Linked DNA regions of Homo sapiens: region 1 is linked to region 2. The links are contacts of gene promoters, found by promoter capture Hi-C in blood cells and fetal thymus (Javierre and others, 2016). All regions are on one chromosome and are shown on one strand. The core of a region is centred on a gene start or on the middle of the fragment in contact, and the rest is flanking DNA. Distances in the headings are between cores, read along the strand shown. Region 1 overlaps HTATIP2 (HIV-1 Tat interactive protein 2). Region 2 holds the start of C11orf58 (chromosome 11 open reading frame 58).

Evidence for each region. The method cuts DNA at HindIII sites, captures the fragments that hold promoters and counts their contacts. A CHiCAGO score of 5 or more calls a contact.
Region 1: a fragment that was not itself captured here is called in contact with the fragment with the promoter of C11orf58 in region 2 in 4 of 17 cell types (total CD4 T cells, non-activated CD4 T cells, naive CD8 T cells and 1 more); the score reaches 10.6 in total CD4 T cells.

Annotation. Positions count from the first base shown.
Region 1 is chr11:20,377,918-20,381,125 of GRCh38, reverse strand. The region is part of intron 3 of HTATIP2 (HIV-1 Tat interactive protein 2); the gene reads right to left. Among named protein-coding and RNA genes, the nearest start is that of PRMT3, 8.2 kb to the left of the region's middle. The HindIII fragment of the contact is 276 bases long and covers 1,140-1,415 here.
Region 2 is chr11:16,736,870-16,740,032 of GRCh38, reverse strand. It overlaps C11orf58 (chromosome 11 open reading frame 58), which reads right to left and starts at 1,386. Exons shown (of 5, transcript NM_014267.6): 1 at 1,192-1,386. The coding sequence starts at 1,254. It also overlaps a transcript of SOX6 not described here. RefSeq lists an enhancer at 883-1,512. The HindIII fragment of the contact is 4,072 bases long and covers 1-2,477 here.

The sequences.
Region 1 (3,208 bases), core at 28-2,527, 3.6 Mb before region 2:
ATATACACAGAACTCTGTAACCTTCATCACGATCTAAGTTTTAAAATATTTCATCACCCTGAAAAGAAATCCCATATCATTAGCAGTCACTCCTCGTACCCTACCCTCTGGGGACCTAGTCAACCACTAATGTACCTTCTATCTCTATAGATTTGCCTATTCTGGACATTTCATATAAATGAAATCATATAATTCGTGGTCTTTTGTGACTGTCTCCTCACACTTAGCATAATATTTTCAAGGTTCACCCATGTTGTAGTATGTATCATTTCTTTTTATAGCTGAATAATATTCTATTGCATGAATATATCACATTTTATTCATCTATTCATCAGTCGATGGCTATCTAGGTTGTTCCCACTCTTTGGCCATTATAAATAATGCTGCTATGAACAGTCATACACAAGATTTTATGTGTACACACATTTCTTAGCTTTTTTTTTTTTTTTTTTTTGAGATGGAGTCTCACTCTGTCGCCCAGGCTGGAGTGCAGTGGCGCAATCTCAGCTCACTGCAAGCTCCGCCTCCCGGGTTCATGCCGTTCTCCTGCCTCAGCCTCCCGAGCAGCTGGGACTACAGGCACCTGCCATCACGCCCGGCTAATTTTTTGTATTTTTAGTAGAGACGGGGTTTCACCGTGTTAGCCAGGATGGTCTCAATCTCCTGACCTCGTGATCCGCCCGCCTCGGCCTCCCAAAGCGCTGGGATTACAGGCGTGAGCCACCGCGCCCAGCCCATTTCTTAGCTTTTTAAAAGATTTGTTTTGTCTCTATTAGCAGTGTGCATAAAAGAGATACCATAGCAGGCTGAGACTGCTATCCTTAGAAAGGCCTGTTACAAGTTTGGCCCCTGGCTTGTGCTTGCAACCTTGGATTTTCGGTGTGTTCCCACCATTCCCTATCTGATAAGGGTCATGTACTATGCCTAAACTGTCTGTACAAACAATGTGGTTTATGCTGAAAACTTGCCTTTCTTCTGGAGGGCTGCAATTTGGCTAGGCCAATGTGCCTATGTAACTGGCTCCCATAAAAACCCTGCATTCCTAGGCTCAGATGAGTTTCTCTGGCAGAAAACGTTCATCGCTGGAGACATTAAGCACATCCTGTGCAAGCTCTATGGGGAGAGGCCTCTTGGAAGCTTGTACCTACTTTCCTCCAGACTTCACCCGACACACCTTTTCCCTTTGCTGATTTTGCTCTATATCCTTTCAATGCGATAAGTTGTAGCTGTGAGTATGACTATATGCTGAGTCCTATGAAACCTTCTAGTGAATTACCAAACTTGGGGGTGTCTTTGAGGATCCCTCAATACAAGCAGATTATAAACTCCTTGAGGTCAAGGATGATACCCAATAATAAAATGTCACATGTCTGGAAAGTATACCTTCACCCTGAATAGATGAGGAAACCAAAGCTTATAAACCCTGAGAACAGAGGACATGAGGCCCATCCAGTACTCTGGGCTCCACATCCTGACACGTCTCCCCACGGCACCAGCAGAATGCCCATAAAGCACATGATTGATCCAAGCCCCCAGAGCTGGCCCACCATGAATGAATGCAATTGAAACTTCATTGAGTAGAATAAATGTTCCTAAACAATAAAGGAGTTTCTAAAATTGGGTGGGGCGGGGGAGTTCATACACACATGGAGGCTGAGAAAATAGGCAATAAATACTAGGAATGTTACACACAGTAGTTGAAGGATTATTTTGGAAAGATAATCTTTCCAAATTGTAAAAGCAATTATATATTGTTCAGCGTCATTCTGGGTTGGATCATTTGGTTGTCATTTCTGTCCTTTATTAATCTAATTCATAATCCCAGGCTGCAGGTAATGCAGGCCAATTGCAGTGAAATCAGAAGTGTCTTTCCGTTGTATTGGCCTTAATATTTGCTGAGGCTCTGTCACGGTCCAATCTCTGCTGGGTCCCTTTTGCATGTATTAGTGACAAAGGCTATTCATTACTTAATAGCTAGTGGCATAGGCCTTGGAATCAGCCTGGGTTCAAGCTCTAGCTTTGCCGCTTAACAGCTGGTGTTTTTGTTGTTGTTGTTGTTGTTGTTGTTTGTTTTGTTTTGTTTTGTTTTTGAGACAGAGTCTCACTCTGTCCCCAAGCTGGAGTGCAGTGATGTGATCTTGGCTCACTGCAGCCTCTGCTTCCCGGGTTCATGCAATTCTCCTGCCTCAGCCTCCCGAGTAGCTGGGATTACAGGCATACACCACTGTGCCAGTTAATTTTTGTATTTTTAGTACAGACAGGGTTTTGCCACGTTTCCCAGGCTGGTTTCAAACTCCCAGCCTCAAGTGATCTTCCCACCTCGGCCTCCCAAAGTGCTAGAATTACAGGCGTGAGCCACCGTGCCCAGCCAACAGCTGGTGGTCTTAATATCACAGTACCTGTTTCCACGCAAATGCACATAAAAGCCCTCAGAATACTGCCTGGCTCATTTAGTGTTAGCTATTTTTTTAAAAATCTGGTTAAATCATTATTATAACCCAGTGAGTCAGTAGTAACGCCTTTATCTTTAACAATGAGGAAATATCTTATGTATATTTTCTTTCCTAAAAGGTATAAATGTTGATCTTGCTAATGAGAGCAAAAATCCTATTTGATAACCTTTCTCAGAACCCACATGTGTCAGTGTTTTAAAAAACAAGTTGGGCCTGATCCCTCATGCCTGTAGTCCCAGCTGCTCAGGAGGTTGAGGCTGGAGATTGTTTGAGCCCAGGAATCTGAGGTTGTAGTGAGCTGTGACCGCACCACTGCACTTCAACCTGGGTGACAGAGCAAGACTTTGACTCTAAAAAAAAAGGAAAACAGATTTTTTCCTTTTAAGAATTGTTCTAAACTCTGACAATTAAGTGGAAACTTTTCCATTCTTCATGTAATTTCATTGGTGGCTCACTGATCTTCATCTGGTTCAAAATACTATTTTAGGATAGGTGAGATATGGCTCAGCTATAAGCCATGTGAAAAAAATCTGGAAATTTTTAATATTACAGGCTGATCATGAGCCAACAACATAATAAGGATGTTTGGTAAAATAGTAACAATCTTATATCCTATTTTTTTAAAAAAACATAGTGTTCGGAGCATGAATAGTACTCCCAGTGCAGTTCCAGTATAATATCACTGCAAAGTTCACCCTTAGCAAAGTGATGCAGTCATGAAGGAGCTAGACACAGGAACCCATAAAGAATGGTGC
Region 2 (3,163 bases), core at 137-2,636:
TCCCCAAATCTTTACTGATTGCTAATCTTTCTGCAGAGCTGAAGTCGATTCCTTTAAAGATCCTTAATATTCCGGTCCTCGCCCCACCTCCCATCAGAGGGGTAGGTCTTAACATTATCTCATTTGCTACAAAGTAGTATTCAGTGGGCTTTTAAAATTTTATGAAGAGCGTTGAAATGCACTATCGAAAAATTTAAAGCTCTATGTATTCAGAAATTGACAGTACTTTAAACAAAACCGAAAAAAAACCTAGATATCCCTTCATCTTCCTTAAAGATGACCTCTCCGCGCTCTCTCCAACAATTTTCCCCATCAACGTTGCCAAGACACTTATCCATTGTATGAAGGACCTAGTTTTACGTTTACTGGTTACCTACCGTTTCCATGACACTGGGCTAGGAGCTAGGACAAATATACAAAAAGGCCTAAAATAAGCATCATATTTCTCTCCGAATTCCCAACACCCGGCAGTGCAGTAAATATTTAACGGGTTACTTTAAGGGATAAACCGTTTGCTATTAAAACCTATGAGGTGAGGGCTGAGGAAGGGAACGGCATTTGATGGGGAGACGAGGTAAGAAGAACGAGGTATTAATATCCGACATCAAAATGGGCTTCTAGGTCTCAACGTCTTAGACCTCACCACCAGAGCCAGTACCAAATTACACCCGTGGCACAATTTTCGGCTCAATACTGTTCTCGGTTTACCCTTACTAGTGCAGCTAAAGTTAACTCTCAACAGCACATTGTAAAAATCATCCAGGCAGGAAAAATCTGTACAAACGTGCACGAACATTTCGACATTGTCACGGGAACATTTAGAACCCAAAACAGGGAGAGTCTTGCCGTCTCTATACTGAGTACAAAGGCCCGAGAAAGCACTCTCATCGGCCCCCCAAAACGCACGTACGAAATCCCTTGACTAAGCTCTTTCACTCCTCGACCCTCTCAGAATTTCCTTCCTCAATCCCCCTTCCTACGCAGGTCTCCGGCTCTCAGCGTGTGGGCCTCTTCAAACCTTCTGACCCTCATAAAGATTAAGGGAGGCATTTCCCACTCATTCTTCTGGTTTCTTCCCTGGGCTCTCCCGCTGCAGGCCACCTCAGGCGCGTCCTCCTCCAACCACCCTTCCCGGCCTACTCCAGGCTTTAGTAGGCCTCAACCCTCAGCCACTCCGCCATTATTATTTACATCGTCGTCTGGGGAGGCTGAACGCTTCACCCCATGCGGGTGAGACTCTCTGGCAGCACTCATCCTTGCGGGGATCCCGACGAAAAATGCCGAACCCTCTCGCCGCTCTTCCCAGCCGCAAAACCAGCAGCTTACAATCCGCCAAGGGCCCAAGCAGCGCCACTACAGAACGCAGAGCCCCTCCGGGCCTTCTCTGCCACAGTCGTCACCGTTGCGGCCCCTCGCCGCCCCGGGGCACTTTGGGAGTTGTAGTTTTCTGATTCATTGCATACTGGCCCGAATAAAAAAGATGTGTCCGTGACTAAAACTACAATTCCCAGGAAGCCCCGAGGCTCAATTCGCGCTGTGTGGCGGGAGTGCCCTCAGAGGCCCCGCCTTCGGCTGGTGGAGGAAGCGTTCCCGCGGATGTGTATGGCGGTGAGCGTTGGCCGAGAGCTTTGTCGCCACAGGAGGAGGCTTAGAGGGGTTTTTGCCTTTCACCGTGCAACGCTGCCCTACTGGCAAATGTATCATCGTAGCTAGGCACCTATGTTTAAATGTAATGTTTGAGGCTGACTGAATCCTCACGAATACCCTCCACCCAGGACAAAAACCTTAACCAAAAATGGCTTCTACCATTTCCACCCTGGTGTTCTCTATTGCGCGCAGGGGATTTCTAGGTGGTCGGTGATGCTGCTTTCTAAATGTTTTCATGAATATTTCGCTGTTTTCCCATACAGAAATGAGTTCAGTATGTTGTTAAATGTTGGCTAATTGGCGGTTGTTGAAAACGGGGATTTAGCTGAGGGAAATCTGTTAAGTTTTCATATGGCTTTGTGTGAGGTGGGAGTGCTCCTCACTGACCTCGCTGTGGATGTCTGGGCACCGTTACAGTAGGGGCCTTCACCAAGCAAAGTCCATCCCTGCCACAAAAGCCTCTATTTTTTTTCTTTTTTAAAAAAAGTAATTATTGAGGTTAAATTCACATATAAAATTAACCATTTTTTAAAAAGTGTACAATCCACTGTCACTTAGTACATTCACAATCGTGTGCAGCTGTCACCTCTGATTCCAAGAAGTTTCACCACTCCAAAAGGAACCCCAATGCCCGTTAGCAATCCCTCCCCATTTCTCGCCCTCTCTCCAGATTCAAGTGATCACTCCTCTACTCAAAAAGCCCTGCATTTAAAGCTATTTATTGTTCAGATACTGAAGACTATCTCCTACTTTATTAAGGTGTCTGAATTTGTAACCAGGTCTGAACTTAACTTTCTGTCAGAATCCTTGTCCTTAATAATTCTGAAGCTTTCTCACCTTGAATACAAATGTGATTTTTTTTTTTTTTAAGCAAAAATTAGGCCTGGCGCCATGGCTCAGGCCTGTAATCCCCAGCATTTTGGGAGGCTGAGGCGGGTGGATCACGAGGTCAGGAGTTCGAGACCAGCCTGATCAACATGGTGAAACCACGTCTCTACTAAAAATACAAAAATTAGCCTGGCATGATGGCACATGCCTCTAATCCCAGCTACTCGGGAGGCTGAGGCAGGAGAATCGCTTGAACCCGGGAGGCGGAGGTTTCAGCGACCCAAGATGGCGCCACTGCACTCCAGCCTGGGTGACAGAACGAGACTCGGTCTCTAAATAAATAAATAAATAAATAATAAGTGGTATGGATAATACATATCTGCTGTTTCAGAACTGAGAGCAGTCTGTGAAACAATGCTTAGCTATTAGCTTTTGAACTCAGCAATTGCTCTAGTTTCACTGCCTGTGTACAAATATTACTTACCTAGATTTCAGATCCTCACTGAACTGTGACCAGTGGAAGGTAGTTTTTAAATTTATGCAGTCATAGATTCAAATTCTCCCTTATTTTGGAAGCAGAAAAATAGCATAATAGTAAGTACTATAATAGAAAAAGAGATGTCAGGGTTACATTTTATAAGTATAACCAAACAAAGAACATCTTAATGGTTCTGTGGTAAGAATAAAT